Regions from separate parts of the Homo sapiens genome. Here regions 1, 2, 3, 4, 5 and 6 are each linked to region 7. The links are contacts of gene promoters, found by promoter capture Hi-C in blood cells and fetal thymus (Javierre and others, 2016). All regions are on one chromosome and are shown on one strand. Each heading gives the region's core, a stretch centred on a gene start or on the middle of the fragment in contact. The rest is flanking DNA. Distances are from core to core; before and after follow the strand shown.

Region 1 (2,700 bases), core at 13-2,512, 860 kb after region 7:
AATAGAAAGGAAAAAAATGGGTAGGTGGTATGGAACCAAACTCCGTGTCAGAAAAGGATCTTTTGATTATTCATTTGTCAGTTTTCACCTACAGTAGGTGTTTAAAGAGAAAAAAAAAAGTGATGAGAATATAGTCCAGGTAGAATGAGGATATAACCAAATTCTCTCAAGGGGAACCCATTACCTAAATGATACTGATAAAGGAGTTAAGAAGAAATTACTTGGGCAGATAGTAAGGGTATGGAAGTCCTCGGTAAGGTGTTTCTTTTTAATGAAAAGCAGCCCCAAATCATTTTCTAACAAAGAGCAGCCTGTAAAGTTGAGCTTCAGACATAGACAGGCAAGCTGGGAGCTTGCACGGGTGAATGCCAGCAGGAACTAAGGACATGTTCAAGATGGCAGCTCCATCTTCCCTTCTCTTTGTCAGCCATGTGTACAACAAAGAACAGACCAGATGGTGCTGATCAACTGGAAAGCCCATTTGCATAATAAGATTAGGGTGGGGTGACCAGTCTTCCCCATGCACTATGTAAACGTCATACCTGATTGAACCAATCTGTGAGCCCTATGTAAATCAGACACCGCCTCTTCAAACGGGACTATAAAATCCAGCACATTCACCACTGGCCCGTCCTTTCCGCTTGGAGACTCCTTTCTCTACAGAGAGAATTGTTTCTCTTTCTCTTCTCTTCTGCCTATTAAACCTCCACTCCTAAACTCCTCATGTGTGTTCATATCCTAAATTTTCCTGGCTCATGATGATGAACCCCAGGTTATATACCCCAGTCTACATAGCTACTTCAGCATCTGATACTTTCTTTTTTTTTTCTCGAGATGGAGTCTTGCTCTGTTACCCAGGCAGCAGTGCAATGGCACGATCTCTGCTCACTGCAACCTTGCCTCCTGGGTTCAAGCCATTCTCCTGCCTTAGCCTCTATGCCCAGCTTTTTTTTTTTTTTTTTTTTTTTTTTTTTTTGTATTTTTAGTGGAGACGGGGTTTCACCATGTTGGCCAGGCTGGTCTTGAACTCCTGACCTTGTGATCTGCCCGCCTTGGCCTCCAAAAGTGCTGGGATTACAGGCGTGAGCCACTGCGCTTGGCCCAGCATCTGAAACTTTCATCTAACGAAACAGTGAGAAATGAAGCTGGTACATATCCATTTTTAAGGTTTATGTGTAATATGATTACTTGTTCTTAAGGTAAGTCTGAGTGGAAATGCCAACTTCCACTGACTATATATTCTAGATGAAAATCTTGGGTCTAGTAACCAGAGAAGTAACCCCAAGATATCAGAATTCCAGCAACCAAGAGGGAAAAAAAAAATCACCATTTTTTGGAAAGATATATGAATGCATTTTAAAAGTATAGGGAAAGTGAGAAAATTTGGTGATTGATCCTTAAAAACATAAATTCTTACACTGGGAGGCTTGGATTGGGACAAAGAACAGGCAAGAGTAGGGCAGAAATGGGGTGGGACAAAGCAATTACAGAATGATTGAATGCAAAAGAAAAAAAAGATGCTCTTGTGGAGATGTATGGACTGTCCCTGTTGTACAGCAAACAAAATTAAGGGGGCAGATGAACACAACACAAATTCAAACACAACAGCCGATCCAGCAGTCGGCATTTCCACTTAGGCTTACCACTTCCACAATGCTCCCTGCCTGAAACTCCACCTCTATTATATGTGGTATCCAATGAATGTGTTTGCTTGAAGTACCCACTTGTCTCCGGTCTCTGTGTCTGTAACTACATGGAATGTCTTATAATCAGAAATCCACTTGATTATCTGATTGCTTCTCTCCTGACAAAGCAGGGTAGTGGCCAGGTCTGTTTTGATCATCATGATATACACAGCACCTGGGGCAGAATGGGGCAATTTATGGTATTCAACAAACGTTTGTTTTAGAAGCTGAATGATTACTTACGTGGAATGATACTTCTCAAATTTTTTATATTTTACAGCAAGGTTTGACAAACTATGGCTCAGAAGTCCATGGCCTGCTTTTGTATAGTCCTATGACCTAAGAATGATTTCCATCCCCATTTTTAAAGAGTTGTTTAAAAAACAATAAAACTAAGAGGTTCATGCAACAGAGATCTTATCTGGCCCAGAAAGCCTAAAATATTTACTATCTGGCCCTTCACAGAAAAACTTTGCTGACCCCTGTTCTAGAGGTGTTATTTTAATAACCTCATTGGCAGAATCTGGAGAGACTTCACTTTGGCCAAATGTGAATATGTAGTCAATTTTTTTTCACATATGAGAAATACAATTTGAAAAAATTTAAATATTAACTGCATAATTACTTAGCTTTGTCCTTAATTCACTAAAACGTCCAGATGAAATGTTGATTCATCATGGATAATTTTATTTTACAATTCCTAAATATCTATAAAAACAGTCGTATTTGCTAATTTCAATTCCTTTTTAGCCTAAAGGAAACACAAAAACAGAAATCCCCTTAAGTTTATGTGTGGCACTGACTGAAGAAGATTCTAGAAATCCCCAGTTCAATGTCAGAAACCAAAGTTTTACTTTCTCCTAAAATTTCCTGTTATTTCTTTAGAAGACTTACACTTAAAAAATTTGAGGGGGAGGAATTCTTGAATAACATCTGTCAATCTTGAAACTTCAAAGAGGTGGTGAAAAACTCTAACAATAGCAACCAGGGCTGGAAGGAAGCTTTGGGATGTGGC
Region 2 (2,700 bases), core at 11-2,510, 900 kb after region 7:
GTCTTCAAGGTGCAATCTTCCAACATAGTTCTGGAACACAGCTGGCTCCTTCCATCCATGGGGAATGACCACATTTGTGTGCTGAAATAACATTTAGTACTAGAGATAAAACTGGAATAAGTGATCTAAACTTTGAAATGTTTTGAATGACCTTTGGCTACAAAGTCAAATTATAATGCTTTCTATTTCTTAAGACAACTCTTTATGGAAGTTCTAGTATGTACCTAACTTTGGCACCTTAGATTTGCCCCACACTGAATCTTATCTATTAAACCTATCTCATTCTGGGGTGAGAACCCAGATGTGTAAAATCGTATGGCCAGAGGTGACTGAGAAGTGCATTTTGACTATGTTTCATAGTCTTTTATCCATCTTAGCATAATCTTTTTACCAGCACCAGTGGAGTTGTGAACTCGCTCAATTTCTTGTGATGTCCAGTGTAAAAATGTATGCCTATAAATGTAACTCTTAGAAAGAGAAGCAAAAATGAGAAACCATGGGGGAGGAGGGGAGGAAATGACAAGCACAGTCTGTTTTTAGGACACTGTACTTGCTGTTCCCTCCAACTAGAATGCGCTTAACCCAGAGATCTGCCTTCTTCATCCCGATTTCATACCAATTACTGCTCAAATATCACATTATCAAAGATGCCATTCTTGACAACCGCTTCTAAAATTACAAGCATCTACCATTGTTCTCAGACCCTCGCGCTGTACTTATCTGCTGACATGTTGATAGAATCTTGTTTATTAGCTTGTACACATGGACTTTAATTCACTCTGTATTCCCCAAATCTCAAACATTGGCTGGCACACGGTGGTTGGTACTCTATAAACACTTGGTGATGGCTTTCCTATCCCTAAGTCCTCCAAAGCCAAGTTTCATACCTCTTCCTTAAGTTCCAAAGGAAACCTTATCTGCAGAAAATTAATGCATATTTGCTGTTGCTGGATAAAGAATAAGGATATAGTCACAGAGAAAAAAGGACATGTTGAGGCCAGGTATGGAGGGTATAAACAGTTGGTGAAGAGTTTTAAGCTCAAGGCCTAGCCTGTCTAACTTAGCAATAAAAGGAAGTCAGTTCTGAAGTCAAAGAGAGTTCTTCTTTCCCCACTGGGAGGAGCTGGTTCATGAAAGTGGAGGGCCAGAGCCAAGAGAACTCTCCCAAGACACATTGTTCAAAAGTCAAGGGCATAATCTAGATAGAGCTACACAGTAGCCATGAGGACACATGGATTTATAAATTTAAATTAACTAAAGTTAAATGAAATCATACATTCAGTTCCAAGTCAGACCAGCCATTTTCAAGTGCTTAATAGCCACATGTGGCCAGGAATAGACAGGATACTTTCATCATTGCAGAAAGTCCTATAGGACAACACTGATCTAAAGAAATTCAAAAGGACCTGCGTTCCTCGGCTTCTGAGGAGATCTGAAAACGAAGGCCCAGAGGGAAATGGAAGGAGAAGCAGGGCAGAGCTTGAAAAGTAATCGCATTGGAAAGGGCCCTGACTGCTGGCTTGGATGCCTTGTGTAATTAAAGTTCTATCCCAACTTCTTAAGGAATGAGTCTCGTATTAAATGACTGGCTGTCTGTAGTGTCACTGCTGAGGTAGGGAGAGAAGACAATTAGGGACAAGGAGTAGTGTTCCATGGAAAACACGTTAGCTATGAGTGGCAGCAGCAAAAGGTCTCAGAAGTGAGAGAAATGGACCCAACTAGGTTTGCAACAAGCTGAAACCTGTAAAGGCTCATGTCAGCTGGCACAACCTCTCAAAATGCAAATCCCTGAGCCCAAGATAAATGTAAGGCTCGTCTGACTCCTAAGGTATCAAGTAATTCTTATTAAGCCCCATTTCAATGACTGAAACCTAATGCAGAGCCCAGGCACACAGATTAAGTTTCCAGTCAAAGCCCACACAAGCCTAAAGAAAGGAAATTAACATTTTAGAGAAAAAAAAAAAAAAAAAAAAAAAAACCCACAGGCTTTTTCAAAGGCTTTTTTTTTTTTTTGGAGGATTTAAGTCACAGCATGCCAAATAAAGGTGAGTTTCTAGGAGAATACAGCACAGAGGTGACCAAGGTGGGTGAAATTTATTCACAGGGGAAAATCCAAATGCCTTCAGGGAAACCACTTTTGCAGGGTTCTTCTGATAAATACTGAACCCAATTAAAAGCATCCCTTCAGGGCAAGTTTTCTCCTAGGAGATTTCTATTGGCCGCTTTAACTTCCCTTTCCCCAGAATTTCCAGGAGAAGTTTGTAACGGTTTATAATCCCTACCACTCCATGCTCATAGACTTTAAGCATATTTTTCTCCCACAAGGCAGTACTATTTTTATAATCCTTTTAAGATTAAAACTAAAAACACAGATGATTAAAAAAAAAAAAAAAAGGCCTGGCTGCATCCTCCTACAATAAAGTATTATAATTGCAGTGCACTACTAAGTAGTATTTCCACAAACATTAGACTATCTGGTTTCCAGGACAAAGAAACAGCCTATAATTCCAAAGCACAGGAATGGAAAAGTACAAGTAATTTAATCTGTCCCACTGTGATTATAGGTGCTAAGAAATTACCTGAACGGACCTCTTTGGGACTTGAGAAGAATGGGGACTTTAATGATGCTCCATAACTGCCCTATTCATTATGATACCCAAGAGCCACCTGTGGCTATTTAAATTCAAGTTAACTGAAATA
Region 3 (2,700 bases), core at 88-2,587, 760 kb after region 7:
GATAGAAAAACAGACTGGCAGGGAAGATAACTGGGTTATGATTACTTAGTGTAGATGAGAGTTTCTGATAGAACATAAACTGCCCGCTTCAGAATCACTTGACATGCTTCATAAAATGCCAATTCTTTAGCCTTTTCTAGGATGGACTTAGACATTGGACATTTTGAACATAGGAACCTGAGTTCCTATGAGAATCTACATTTTGAATAGGTCCCCTAGCTAATTCGCACTTTTACTGATATTCGAGAGCCGGGAGTCAAGGTGATGTTCTTTTTTCAAAAGCAGTATTGGCTAGGGTCATAGTAGTGCTGGTTAGTGAAGCCCAAGCAGGTCACGCTGTTATCATCTCACAGGTAATCAAAGCTTTTGCATTTGCCAGGTGTAGGGGCCAACTTTGGCTGCCTTAAGAAGAATTATTGGAAGCCTATGATGGTATAGCAAATAACTTAAGGATCAGTGTTGGAGAGAGAGGATCCAGGGCATCTCTGAGCATGTATGTAAGCAGGCACTAACTGACGATCAGAGCTGGGTTGAGTCAGCTTCAAACTTTACTGTTTTTTCCTGATCTTTGCACATTTAAGATGAAAGAGAACCTGCTAGGTGCACGCTATGGAGTAGAAAATTTTTAAATAGGATGTTATCAAGAAGGCAGAAGGGATTGTTACTCTATAAGATTCTGATGTTAAAATTTTATACACATGATAACTCTTGAAGAAACTAGCTAAGAGTTTTAAAAGTATTTCATTGCATTCTAAGATAAATCTTAAGATAACAACTTTATATTTTTTCTAATTCTCAGCCTGAATATGCCAATATTTGCTTTTGGTACATTCCACCGAGCCTCAGAGAGATGGAAGAAGGACCCGAGTTCTGGGCAAAACTTAATTTGGTAAGTAATAAGTAAATGGTATTTTTCTTTTTGATGAAGTAGATTCAGTGTACATTATCTGTTGATCCTATAAATAAGAGGGCCTAGCAAGCACAGAATTATCTAGAGAAGTGTCTTCTAGTTTGTTAAAAAGTAATGACAGGCCAAACAGTTGTAGACATTGTTTACATTTAACAAATTAACATGGTTGACACACACCCAAAACAATTAGGTTGTCTGTAAGGTAGAAGTTCTGGCTCACAGTGTACTTCAGGAAGTGACATCTGGTCATGGGACACAAGGTTAAAGTTGTGTGATGAATGACTATTTATTTCAACTCTGCTACTGCATCTCTGACTGTTGTACCACCTTACTTGGAAATAATGTTAGAAGTCTAAATCTGATACTTTTTGTAAGCGTGAGACTGTCTTCAACAAAGGCCCTATGTCTTACACCCAAGGGGATTACATAAAAGAAAAGAGATGCTAAGCAGTGGGTTTCAGCTGATCATCGAACAAAATGTGCTTGGAAGTGTCTTCACACACAGCTGTTGGGGCTGATGATACCGTGTGAGGAGAGGCCCCAGGCTCCAGGGACTGCTTGTGTCTCATCTACTCCTCGCCTAGCATGGCCCTGCCAGTTATAATCCTGCCTCTAATCCAGATTTCCAAGCACTATGGAGTCTCGTGAGTAACACTACTTGATCCCACTTTCTGGATGCATGAACATAATGCATACTGAAAGTGAACCCATGGGAGTTTCACTGGGGATTATGTGGCCATGACATGTAGAGTCCAAGTTCTTATGGGCTAGCACCATTAAAATCAGGCAATTCCCTACCTCTTGAGTGGGATCAAGTCAGCACAGCTGACTTTATGACCCTGGTTAGTAAAAGCTCTGACTTGCAAACCCCTCTCCTTACCCTCAGGGGGAAAACGTTTTTTTTTTAAAAGCAATTTTCATTGTCCATAGCCTATTTTCCCCTTAGAAGACAAAAAACAAAAGACTCCCTACTCAGGTAAGCAACAAACATTTGCTGAGTGTCCACTATACTATGCACTGGAAATACAAACATCAAAAGGACGTGTCTCTGCCCTTGAGAAACTCAATATTCCTAGAGACAATGAGTAAAGAGACAATCACAAGGTAACCAAGAAGTACCTGAATGGAGATTAACTGTTTGCAGTGAAAGTAGAGAGAAAGGGTATCTACCCCAATGTGTGATACTAGAGCTGAGTTTTTAACAATAAGCAGATGTCAGTCAGGGGACAATTTTAAAGAAGCAGATTCCAGGAAGAATCACAGCATGAGAACTCAGAGGCTCAAGAGGGGAGAATGTGATTCAAAGACCACAGGGGTGCAAAGAAGCAGTGATGGGAGGTGAGAAGAGTAACAGGCAGAGGGAGGGTCATGGGAGCCTTGCCTTCCACGGCAGAAAGCTTGGGATTTTTGCCCCAGTCTAACTAGAAGGAAGAGGGCAGAACATAGCCTTTAAGTCATGGTCACTGATTGCCTCACTTGGCAGCGTGTCCTTTTAGCTTCAGGTCATTTTCTGTTTATTCATGGCTCAAACCTCCTAACCTGTAACATAATAGATGACCAATACAGAATACACCTCTTATCAAACCCTCTCAGGGAGCAAAGATGTGGAGAGATGGATGGTGTTATATCTGTGCCCTTATCCATTTCAGGCAGGTAGCATAGACTTTGGGGATTTGTCTTGTATTTGTCACACACAAAATAGCAAAGTGCTTAAGAATACATTTCAGATGTTAAGTAACCCATAAAGAGAAACAGGAACTGGACAATGTGAGAATTTAGTGGTGAAGTTT
Region 4 (2,700 bases), core at 126-2,625, 770 kb after region 7:
AGTTTTCTTTGAAAGAATTATTTCTCTAGAAACATGACTTATTGACAATACTGTGAAACAATCACAAAACTTTAGTGATATGAGACAATAAGCATTTATCACTCATGAATCTGCAGGTAAAAAGGAGATATTAGGTAGCTAATTTAGGCTGGACTTGGCTGGCAGTGGCTGTGGCTCCGTGAATCTTTCTTCAACTTACTGAGGCATGTTCTTATGAGTGACAGAGGCATAGAGCACAAGTCCACCTGCATAAGAGCATTTTGTGAGTCTGTTATATCTGCCGACATTAGCTTGGCCATAGTGAATCTCATAACTAAGCCCAACCTTAAAAGATATTGGAGACTATGCTACAGTTAGCCAAATCCAGCCATATGCACAAACCCAGTGGCAGTCGAGCAGGGAAATGTTACTTCTAAGGAAGTGAAGTAGTGAGGATACATATGCGTATTTCTGAAGAACCTAATCTACCACAAATAAAGATGGTCACTTTTAAAAAACAGGTTTAGGCATAGTTCAGCAATGTACAAAATGTGGAATAAAACCTAGTGACAATTCAAAATTAGGCTTTAGCTTACCACAGTGTTACTGTGGGAACGTGTCTCAGTTCAATTCAGCAAATGCTTTGTGCCAAGCACTATGGGAAATATCAAAGGTGAAAATGACATAGCACCTTCCATCAAGCTTTCAACTTGAGGAAAAGATAAATGTTTCTAAGAGTTACTGTAATAAAATGTCCAGTGTAACAAGAATTATGAGCAGGAACAAGTACTGGAGGTACAGAAAGAAGGGCAAGAGCTCCTCTTAGCTATTGTTTAGAAATCAAGTGCAGGGAGTAGAATATACTCTGGCTAATTTTGGAAGAAAAAGATTTATAGATAATTAAAGATTTACATAATCATTGTGAGAGCTAAAGAGACAGATGTCTAAGTCCTACCCTAGAACTGGGCTGCCCAGGGAGCTGCTGCTTCTGCTCCAATCTGCAGAGGCCTGTCGAATTGTGGATTTGCCTTACGAGATGCCAGCACTAAATCCAACCAGCTCCATCGTGATCTGCACTGGAAAAAAAACGGATTTTTAATCATTATGACTCTTCTCCCACCTAACTCAAGTTTGAAATTATGTGCAGGTATGTCTGGCTGGCTCACTTTAAATTACATCAGACTAACTGCAAGAGAGTTTTGGAAATGTGTAAGCCTCTGCAATATAGGAAGGGACTTTAGAAGGAGATCAAATGTTGACTCAAATCCCCTATATATTCCACTGGAAGCTCAGGGAAGACTATCAAAAGGGCGACACTTGTACCAGCTTTTACAAAGTGCTGCCTAATGGCAAGGATGGCATAGGATTCTGTTTATGAAAGTACTTCATTATGAGGCAATAAATAAATACTTGCTTTATGGAAATACAATGGAGTCCTCTTGAATGGAGTCACCATGAAAACCTTTATCTCAGTGATAAGAATCCAGGAATAGTTTTTACTCTCTTCTTCCACCAAGTTGATATATTCGTAGAAGGTCCACATTTATATTTAAGCATTTACCATGTTATCTTATACTGTGCTAAGCCCATTACATATATGATCTCATTTAGAGTCCTCTCAACCACCCTCTATGAGGTAGTTACCATCTCATGTTTTTTTGTCAGTTACTCAGAGCCAGTCTGATTCTAAAGTTCTCAAGCACAATCATTGTGGTTCTTCCTGAGAAGAGGGGAAGACGGGAAAGATAAAAGGCAATACGGAGCAAAGTGTAGGAAATGGAGATCTGACGGAAGGAAGAGCTGGAGGGAGGCTGCAAAGAATAGCCCAGAGAAAACTCATCAGCTAAGGAGGGGCTCTTTCAGAGAGTGGAGTGCTCCACCAAGCTGTCAAAGGTGTTCACTAAGAATACATACTTGGTGCATGCAACTGTATGTGGATAGTACTTGGCAGATAGGAATGTACTACAAAGGCAAAGAATGTTGAGTAAAGCCAAGGCATGATGTTTGATGGTTGGAGAGAGTAGTTTGGTATCATCCAGATTTGGTTTTGCTCTTGGCTGTGCAGGAAACTATGAAAGCTATGAAGCTTTTGGGGCAAGCTGCTGCATCTTGAGAAGTTTCGTCTATAAAATTAGTTTAATACTTAACTCATGGAATTGAGAAAACAAATTTGGATTAATGAATAAACACCATGGTACTCAGCACATGGTAACATGCTCAATAAGTGTTATCTGCATTTATTGGTACTGGGTAACTGACCCATCTTAAGCTCAGATATTCCTTTTGATTTTGCTGAACTGCTGATAATCTGAGCAGCTTTGCTATTAGTGTATTCTGGTAAGAGAAGAGGGAAGTCTTGGGATCCAGAAGATACGGACTAGAACTGTTTAAACAGGGGAGGGGACTACATTTGTAGGAGTTGTAGAACTCCTTCAAATTCTTGTGATTTTGTGAATCTGATCTACTAATCCCAAGAACTATTTGGATGATTGGAATTCTAGGTCCTTCTGTGTTTACTCATTCTCTGTGGGGGGGTTATGTGCCCTAGAAAATAAACAGCAAACTTAAAGCAGAAATCCACTAATCCATGGGCCTGTAATCATCCTCAATATTTACTAATAGCATTACATTAGCTTTAAGGCTGTACACAGCCAGAGTTCTGTGAGCAAGGATATACCTGCTCATAAAGAGACTAACTGGTTTCCCTTTCATGTCTTTAAT
Region 5 (2,700 bases), core at 176-2,675, 850 kb before region 7:
TATTTATTTATTTTTGAGATGGAGTCTCACTCTGTCGCCCAAGCTGGAGTGCAGTGGCGCGATCTCGCCTCACTGCAAGCTCCGCCTCCTGGGTTCATGCCATTCTCCTGCCTCAGCCTCCTGAGTAGCTGGGACTACAGGCACCCGACACCATGCCCAGCTAATTTTTTGAATTTTTAGTAGAGACGGGGTTTCACCGTGTTAGCCAGGATGGTCTCAATCTCCTGACCTTGTGATCCGTCCGCCTCGGCCTCCCAAAGTGCTGGGATTACAGGTGTGAGCCACCGCGCCTGGCCTCCAGTGAATTTTTAAAAAGTTTATTAGGTTCCGTAAACCAGTCAAACTCTCAGGTCCTTCTGAGAATCACCAATCAGCTGCCTTATATCCATTGGAAATTTATTGCATCAGGCTGGCTCCTGAGCCAAGGGCAGCCCATCAGTGGGTTGGCCAGTAGTGTTTGGAGTGGCCTTATAAGGGAACTTTGCCTAGTAAGAGTGGGAGCTCCACTGATGATCCTCTGTCCTGCGGAGTTTGAATGTGAGGCATTGAGAGGGGTTTAGCAATTGGGACATAGAGAGAAGGTGGAAGCCAGGAGGCTGGTTGGGCCATGAGAGGAAATAAGGAGAGGCAGAGCAGAAGAGAGTGGCTGAGGCCCAGCAGAGGGAGAGCGGCATGTACTCACCACAGCGGGGCCAGCCAGGATACCTGGTCTTTAGCGCCAGGTGGGACCCTGAAACCTTTGTCTTTGTGCTGCCTGGCTGTGTGGCTGAGAGGCAGGACTCTGGAACCAAACTGCCTGGGTTTGGCCCTTAGTTCCATCACTTGCTAGATGTGCAACCTTGGGCAAGCCTCTCTCAGCCTCCATTTCCTTCTCTGTAAAGAGGAACAACAATAGAAATGACCCCTCAGGGTAACTGCGAGATCTAAATGGGATAAGACATATGGAAACGGTCTAGAGTAGCATCTGGCTCATAGTAGTAAATGTTACCTATTTTATCATTTTTCCTAAGTCCTTATGTATCGAACAATGAGGCTTCATTATCTGAGGGCTGAGGGACTCCTGTACGTTGCCATTTCCATAACCATAAGCATCAAAGACCATCTTCAAGGGTGAAATAAAAGATTTCTTGGATTTAGGTAATCCAAGGAATTTTGAGAGCTGCTGGGGAAAAGTTTTACTGAGAGAGGAAGGGAGGAGAGGAGGATTCACCTTGTTATTTGCTCACAACCCTCACTCAGCAAATGTTACGGAGAGCCTTCCACATGCCTGACTGAACACTTCCCAGAAGAGGAACTCCCTCCCCCAGGGAGTTTGTAACCATAGCAACACAGGGAAATAGAGTCAGATAACCGAGGAGGCTGTGGTCGTCATCTCTGTCATCTCTGTTGGGAGGAGTCGAGGTCTGGGTTAGACGGCTCCCTGTTTGTGTCCAGTATTTAGCAGAGTGCCTGGCCCAAAGTAGTACTCAGTTTATATTTGTGGGATTAATGCAGAGCTGTAGCATCCCTGTAAGGGATGGCCCAAAGCTGGGAGTAACCAGCTTGTCTTGAACTGGGAGGAGAAAGTTTCAAAAAAGAATATGTGCTTGGAACTAGGTCTTGAAGGGCGATTAAAAATTTATGGGGTGGGCAAAAGAGGGAATGACATATGTCAAGAAAGGAGGCATGAAACCGCACCACGGATTCCAGGAATTCCCAGTCCTTTGGCGTGGCTGGAGTGTGGGGACTTGGGGAAAAGGGCTGGGGACCTTGGCTGGAGAGATACCACAGGACTGTGGATGCCCACCTTAGGATTTGTGCTTTATGTAGACAATGAACACTGTGAGGATCAAAGGGGTTAAGATATGTCAAATGCTGAGAACTGTTGCTGACAGTAAGATGATGAGTATGATGATGATAATGAGATCTCTTTTTTATCTTTCCTTAGCCCATGCTGTCATTTGCAATCACCTGTGAAACCTATGAAAACTATACCTGCCCAGGCTCAGCCTTGGAGATTCTGATTCAGTGTGCTCAGGCGGGGCTGGACATCCATGTTTGGGAAGAGTTGCGCGGGTGATTTCGATGCGTATATGACCCTGGTTGAAAACTGCTAACCTGGCAAATGCCCGCCAGTCTCACAAAGTCCAGCCAAAATGTTACGGCCTCTGAGAAGCCTTCTGTGAGTGATGAGCAATCCCCATGGCAATATTTATTGAGCACTGACAAAGTGCCAGGACCTGTGTCAGGCACAGGAGTACATGTTCTTTGCCCAGACTGAGAAAACAGGCAATATGTATGAAAAATGCTAATGATAGAATAAAAGTGGGGTACTATGGGAGCCCATGGGGAGATACCTTACCCTGTCAGGGATGTGATGGGGAAGTCAGGGAAGGCTTCCTGGAGGAGGGGCCATCTTAGCTGCATACTGAAGGATAAAGAGGTGTTAACCAGCCTTGGGTGGGTGGAGAAGAGAGTTCCAGGTAAGTACTCGGGCATGACAGATTAGAGGGGATGAAGTTCATGCAGGCTTAAGCATGAGGTCCAAAGAAGTGGGAGATGCTACATGAGGCTAGATAGGTGGCAAGACAATATGGCAAATGTGGGTGAGTTACCTGACTCCTGTATGTGCACCCAGCCCTTTGCCCACACTGGAAGTGTGTGACATATCTCACTTTAGTTGACTCTTTTGAGACTGGGAGCTCATAGAAAGAAGTCATG
Region 6 (2,700 bases), core at 43-2,542, 880 kb after region 7:
GCCAAGGCAGGTTATTCACCTGAGGTCAGGAGTTCGAGACCAGACTGACGAACATGGTGAAACTCGTCTCTACTAAAAATACAAAGATTAGCTGGGTATGGTGGCACACTCCTGCAGTCCCACCTACTCAGGAGGCTGAGGCAGGAGGATCACTTGAACCTGGGAGGCAGAGGTTGCAGTGAGCCAAGATCGTGCCATTGCACTCCAGCCTGGGCGACAGAGTGAGACTCCGTCAAAAAAAAAAAAAAAAAAAAAACAACCAGAAAAGAAAACGAGAGAAATGGACCATTTACAGGATGAGGATGAGAACATAGGAAGGAAGAGTAATCTGGAAAGCGTTGCCCTGACAAGATGTGCATGCCTGCCTTCAGTTCACTGAGAAGTTGGCCTGGGGGATGTTGGACAGGAAGATAGGGAGAATGGCAGTAGGTGAAGGACACAGGAAGAGAACAAGCTGGATCTGCAGTGCTACTGAGCACCAAACACGAAACACGAGGACACATAGCTTCTCGCAGGTGGAATGCACATGGCCGCAGAGATAGGGTGTAGAGCCAGCATTTGTATTTCAAAAAGATTTTTTAATTAAATCAGACCTATTGTTGACTAAACTAACATTTACACTACCACGCTGGTAAAATTAAAAGACTTATCCATTCCCAGTGTTGGAGAAGGTACACGGAAATCCATATGCTTACATCCTTTTCAGGAGGAGAATAGTTTAGTAGTGCTTATTCAAATTTAAAATACACATATTTCTAATCTAGAAATTTCACTTCTGGCAATCTGCCTTGCAGAAATATTAGCACAAATGCATGAGATATTTTTACAAAGATATTCAATGTAGCATTAAGTGGAAAAACTGAAGACAATCCATCAACAGGGACATGATAAGATCCATCGTGGGAGATAATATGAAATTCGAGACTAAATTAAAAGATGTACAGTATATCTATGTGTTCTATCTTGTTTAGAAGGAATTGTAAAAGTGGTTGGGTATAAAAAAGTGTTGCAAAATAATATTTATAGTATGATCAGATAGTTGTACTGAAAGATGGATGAGTGGATGGAAGGATGGACAGATGGATGAAAGGAGGGAAAGAGAAAGGAAGACAGGGAGAGATTGGGAGAGAGGATGGAGTGGGAGATAATATGAATGAATGATAGAGACGTGTGTGCATCTAATACATTGTCAATACAGATGATCTGTTGCATTGGGAGTGAGGGGAGGACGAAAATGTACTTTCATTTTTAATTTTCACACACTGTTGGATTGTTTGAAATTTTTGATGACGAGCATATACTACTTTTGTAATTAAAAACCACTGAATTCTCTTCTTATTAAAAATTGAGGGAATAGTGTATGCCTTCCTTTCAAGCTGAGTAAACGCTGAACTTCAAAGATGGAGGCTAGTATCTAATCTACTCTTCTCCTGGCTCTAGGGGTAAACTTTGGCTTATTATTTCCTCTCTGTATTGCAATGTTTCTCTCAAATGGGATCGATGACAAGTACCCTAAAGACAAATCCTGGGACTATGTACAAGAAACAACATCAGTTATAAAGAAAGTCCTCCTCCAAGATTAAACAACCCCATCCAAATCTTTAGAACAATAGTTACCAAATTTTAGCTGCACAGAATTACTGGGAGGGCTTGTTAAAATACAGATAGCTGGGGTTCACCCTCTATGTTTCTCATTTAGTGGGGCCTGAGAATCTGCATTTATAACAGGTTCCCAGGTGATACTGATGCTGGCTGCTCAAGAGGCCGCACTTTGAGAAACACTGCTCTAGGTGAAAGAAACTATTTGTCAAAGACAAATAATAATGTTTGCCCCAGTCAACCATATTTGATGAGAACCAGAACAAACCCTGCTACTCCCCAAGCCCCTCTTTCCACCAGCTGAATGAGCTCCTAATCCACTGTATGCAATCCACCACAGGAGGAATGTGCTCTATGACACTGCAGACCAAGGATACAAAAAATTGGCACAGATCTCAGGTCCCACACCCTTAAGAGAAGAAAACTCACCTTCTGAGAAGATGATGTTGTCATTGCACTCATCAGAGCTACAGGAACACATGAAGAAAGTCTCACCAGGCTTTTTTTTTTCCTTCATAATGCACTTTGGAGAAGCAGCATCTTCCAGAATAAAGTCATGGTAGGGGAGCTTGGGGTCATGGCAAACTGTCTCTAGTGTTATGTTCTCGTCATTCTTTCTCCTAGAGTGAAGAGATTCATTGGAAGCGAGGGGAGAGGGAGAGAGAGAAAGAGAATAAATGAATAATATGGCCTCCAGACAGAAAGGCAATCTGGAATACTTTTCCTTCATGAAGTTGTTCCTAACAACGGCAGCTGGTTCCTGTTCTCCAGCATTCGCAGGCTGTCCTATAGTCTCCTATGCTTTTCTACTCTTTTCTGTTTTTCCTTTGTTTATTCTTGGAACCCATTTGTGATTATAAACATCACCTGGAGCAGACAGCGTTCCACGGGGCAGTCCTGGTGGAGAACTTTACATATTTAAGTCTTAATTAAATCATTAAAGGGGAAGACATGGAAAAAAAGAACATTCCTAGGTACTCAGGATAATTTTAAATCTTCCATCCTGAATGTAATGCAAACCTCACATCACACCCCTAGTTTAAGTGGCAAAATCTGTCCTGTCTAGCTATACTGTTTTCAAAGAGCATGCCTGGGGAAATA
Region 7 (2,700 bases), core at 82-2,581:
ACACCATGTGCAACTTCGGTATTACAATCTAGGACTCCCATCACCGTGGTACTGTTTGCTCTTATCCACAAACCTTCCTGCAGACCAATAAAGGAACTAATGCAATGCTTTCAGATACTGTGCATAACACACTAAGGGTGACAGTGGCTAACAGGGTAAGGATCTTGTTCTAAAAAGCAACCCAAGACGATAGTGAAACAGTAAGGTGCTGAGTGCACTTAAGAGCTCTGAAAAAAAGCCACTCTTTAAAATACCTAATGATAAATAAATAAGAGTAGCTAGCTTTCAGATCACTTTCAGGGGTATTATTTCCTTCCCTCCAACACGCCATTCACTCTCCTTTTCCCTTCTCGTATCATGAGAGCATAAAAAGAAACAGTAAAAGCGTAAAACTGCAAGGGTGAGCAGCCGGGGTTCCGGCACATCTGGACCCACCTCCAGCGGCAACAGGGCAGCCCCCCTGGCCGATTCCGTCTGAACTAGCAAAAACGCGCCCGCAAATATGAAAGAACGCGAAAGCAGCGGGCGAGGAGGGCGGGGAATCGACCGACAGTCCGCGGAGGAGCTACCTGCCGCCTCCTGGCGTGGCGGGTCCGGACTCAGCGACCAAAGCGGGCTGCGAGGGACTGCACCCACACTCCCGGCGGCTGCACCCACACTCCCGGCGGCTGCATCCACACTCCTGGCAGTCTTCACACTAGCCCGGCCGAGAATCAAGGTTTCGCTCCTGGACCCCGACGCCCCGCCTCAGGCTGCACGGGGCAAACTTCGCCCACGGGCAGGGGGCGCGCCCGGAGCTCCGGGATCCGCGCCGGCCTCAGCCAGGACGCGAGCGGGGCTCCGCGGCGGCGCGGGGCCAAGTCGAGGAGAGCTGCGGCGGGCGGAGGAGCGGGTCCCGGTTCCCCGCGGGCCACGGGCGGGGGAGGGGCGGCGAGGCACTTACCACGGGTCGAACTCGTGGATGATGCTTTCGAAGCGGATGACGGCGAAGAGGCGCGAGCTGAAGCCGGCAAGCCAGGCCAGGAAGAGGATGGTGAAGGAGAGAAGCGACTGCCACCCAGCCGGCTGCGACAGCCCCCCGGACAGCCCCGCCGGGGCCGGCTTCGGCGGCGCCGCGCCGCCCGCCGCCTTGTGCGCGCACTGGGCCCCGGGCCCGTGGTGGCCGTGCCGGCTGTTTCCCAGGGCCATGAGGCCACTCCACGGGGACGAGTTGAGGGACGACTTGTGCTTGCTCTCCGGGGCCGAGGGCTCCGCCATGTTGTGCCCCGGCGGCGGGTCTAGCTCTCCTCCTCCGCCGCCGCCGCCTGGTGCGAGGGGTGCTGGGCGGGGACCCGGAGGAGGAGGAGGAGGAGGAAGAAAAAGGAGGAGGGAAGAGCTCTGCGCGCTCCCGCCCTCAGCGCCGCGAGGCCGGCGGACTGGGGGTGGAGGAAGCGGCGGCGGGGAGTCTCCGCCTCAGCAGCGGCCGCAATCGCCGCTCTCTCAACCCAGATGGCCCCGGCGCCCCACTAGCCATCCGTATCCCCAGTGCAGCTGCGGCGGCGGCGGCGAAAGCCGACGGGACGAGGGCGCCAGGAAAGAAGCAGCAGACGGAGGCGGCACCACGGCTCTGAGAAGCAATGACATTCCCTCTCTAGCCCGCCGCCCGCCCAGCCGAAAGGAGCAGGGGGAGGAGCCCCCTGGAGTCCGGGCGGAGCTCAAGCAACCTCTGACTCCGCCTCCGGCCCGACAGGAACTGGCCCCTCCGCCTGTCACAAAGCGACAGGTCCGTTAGGGGGCGGGCCCAGAACCGCTGCGCCCACCAATAGGGGCGCGAGCTGGGGCGGAGCTTGACCCAACCGTCTCCCCCTCCCCCCCACCATCCCGGCCTCGCGCCGATTCGCCCGGAGTGGCCGAGCTGCGCGGCTACGGCTTCATTGTCAGTTGAAAGACGCGGTTTCGCGCGCCTGTGCGGTCGGCGAGAAAGGGTACTAGGCGGCTCCGCTAGGTTCATGGAGCTGAGCTGGGCCGAGGGGCGGGAACTGCGGAGCGGCCTCGGTCAAACTCGTCTTAAAGGACGCGGAAAGCGCCGCACCGACCAGCAGGACGCTCGCGGGCTCTCCGCGGTCGTGACTTTTAACCCGCTTTGCGCGGAGCCCTCACCACGTGACGGCCGCGCAGGCGCATTATCCTAGCCCTCGGCGCGTGGGTCGGGCCGAGGGGTTCAGCAGCCCGTGGCGCTCCTCGGCTGGCGCTGCGAGTGAGCCCGCGGCGGCAGTGACACAGCCTACCTTGCTCATTGCCCTTCACGTCCCGCCTCCGGCTTCTGCGGCCGCGGGAATCCGAGAATGTGAGCAAAGACAAGTTTTCCGACACCGAAAACTCGTTGGAACCGGCAAGCGCGCCCCTAGCTCCGGCAGGCAAAATGCGACCTTCTCTCGCCCTTTTTCGTTTGTACTCCGAATTGCGAAAGTACTGTATGTTCACTGGAAATATGGGAAAATGCAGAAATACATTAACGGCTGCATACATTCCGTCGAGTGAGTGAAACTAACTTACCCTGGACGTTAAGCTGTTTCCAGTTCTCACTTTACTAAATAATAATAGAACGAAGGTTCTTGTGCACGTCTACCTTGTATTTTTATAATTCCTTTCCTTTCCCCACTTCCCTCCTTGTCCGCTAAAATAAAGTGCTACCAGATAAACTCAGGGCAAAATGAGCTT

The links. The method cuts DNA at HindIII sites, captures the fragments that hold promoters and counts their contacts. A CHiCAGO score of 5 or more calls a contact.
Region 1: a fragment that was not itself captured here is called in contact with the fragment with the promoter of STT3B in region 7 in 3 of 17 cell types (neutrophils, erythroblasts and fetal thymus); the score reaches 7.8 in neutrophils.
Region 2: a fragment that was not itself captured here is called in contact with the fragment with the promoter of STT3B in region 7 in 1 of 17 cell types (neutrophils); the score reaches 8.1 in neutrophils.
Region 3: a fragment that was not itself captured here is called in contact with the fragment with the promoter of STT3B in region 7 in 2 of 17 cell types (M2 macrophages and M1 macrophages); the score reaches 5.5 in M2 macrophages.
Region 4: a fragment that was not itself captured here is called in contact with the fragment with the promoter of STT3B in region 7 in 1 of 17 cell types (monocytes); the score reaches 5.5 in monocytes.
Region 5: a contact is called between a fragment that was not itself captured here and the fragment with the promoter of STT3B in region 7, in 1 of 17 cell types (neutrophils). The highest score is 5.6, in neutrophils.
Region 6: a contact is called between a fragment that was not itself captured here and the fragment with the promoter of STT3B in region 7, in 2 of 17 cell types (neutrophils and fetal thymus). The highest score is 5.1, in neutrophils.

The regions. Positions count from the first base shown.
Region 1 is chr3:30,667,398-30,670,097 of GRCh38, reverse strand. The region is part of intron 3 of TGFBR2 (transforming growth factor beta receptor 2); the gene reads right to left. Among named protein-coding and RNA genes, the nearest start is that of TGFBR2, 62 kb to the right of the region's middle. The HindIII fragment of the contact is 2,853 bases long and covers 1-2,688 here.
Region 2 is chr3:30,627,807-30,630,506 of GRCh38, reverse strand. All of the region lies in intron 1 of TGFBR2 (transforming growth factor beta receptor 2), which reads right to left. Among named protein-coding and RNA genes, the nearest start is that of TGFBR2, 23 kb to the right of the region's middle. The HindIII fragment of the contact is 7,422 bases long and covers 1-2,700 here.
Region 3 is chr3:30,776,368-30,779,067 of GRCh38, reverse strand. It overlaps GADL1 (glutamate decarboxylase like 1), which reads left to right. Exons shown (of 15, transcript NM_207359.3): 14 at 800-889. Among named protein-coding and RNA genes, the nearest start is that of GADL1, 120 kb to the left of the region's middle. The HindIII fragment of the contact is 1,944 bases long and covers 366-2,309 here.
Region 4 is chr3:30,757,440-30,760,139 of GRCh38, reverse strand. All of the region lies in intron 14 of GADL1 (glutamate decarboxylase like 1), which reads left to right. Among named protein-coding and RNA genes, the nearest start is that of GADL1, 140 kb to the left of the region's middle. The HindIII fragment of the contact is 1,384 bases long and covers 684-2,067 here.
Region 5 is chr3:32,383,777-32,386,476 of GRCh38, reverse strand. No RefSeq gene overlaps it. Among named protein-coding and RNA genes, the nearest start is that of CMTM7, 6.7 kb to the left of the region's middle. The HindIII fragment of the contact is 6,743 bases long and covers 1-2,700 here.
Region 6 is chr3:30,649,789-30,652,488 of GRCh38, reverse strand. TGFBR2 (transforming growth factor beta receptor 2) reads right to left here. Exons shown (of 7, transcript NM_003242.6): 3 at 2,029-2,219. Among named protein-coding and RNA genes, the nearest start is that of TGFBR2, 45 kb to the right of the region's middle. The HindIII fragment of the contact is 8,920 bases long and covers 1-2,700 here.
Region 7 is chr3:31,531,556-31,534,255 of GRCh38, reverse strand. It overlaps STT3B (STT3 oligosaccharyltransferase complex catalytic subunit B), which reads right to left and starts at 1,331. Exons shown (of 16, transcript NM_178862.3): 1 at 944-1,331. The coding sequence starts at 1,257. RefSeq lists enhancers at 599-658, 1,509-1,648 and silencers at 819-968, 1,049-1,178, 1,209-1,438, 1,749-2,008. The HindIII fragment of the contact is 5,534 bases long and covers 1-2,700 here.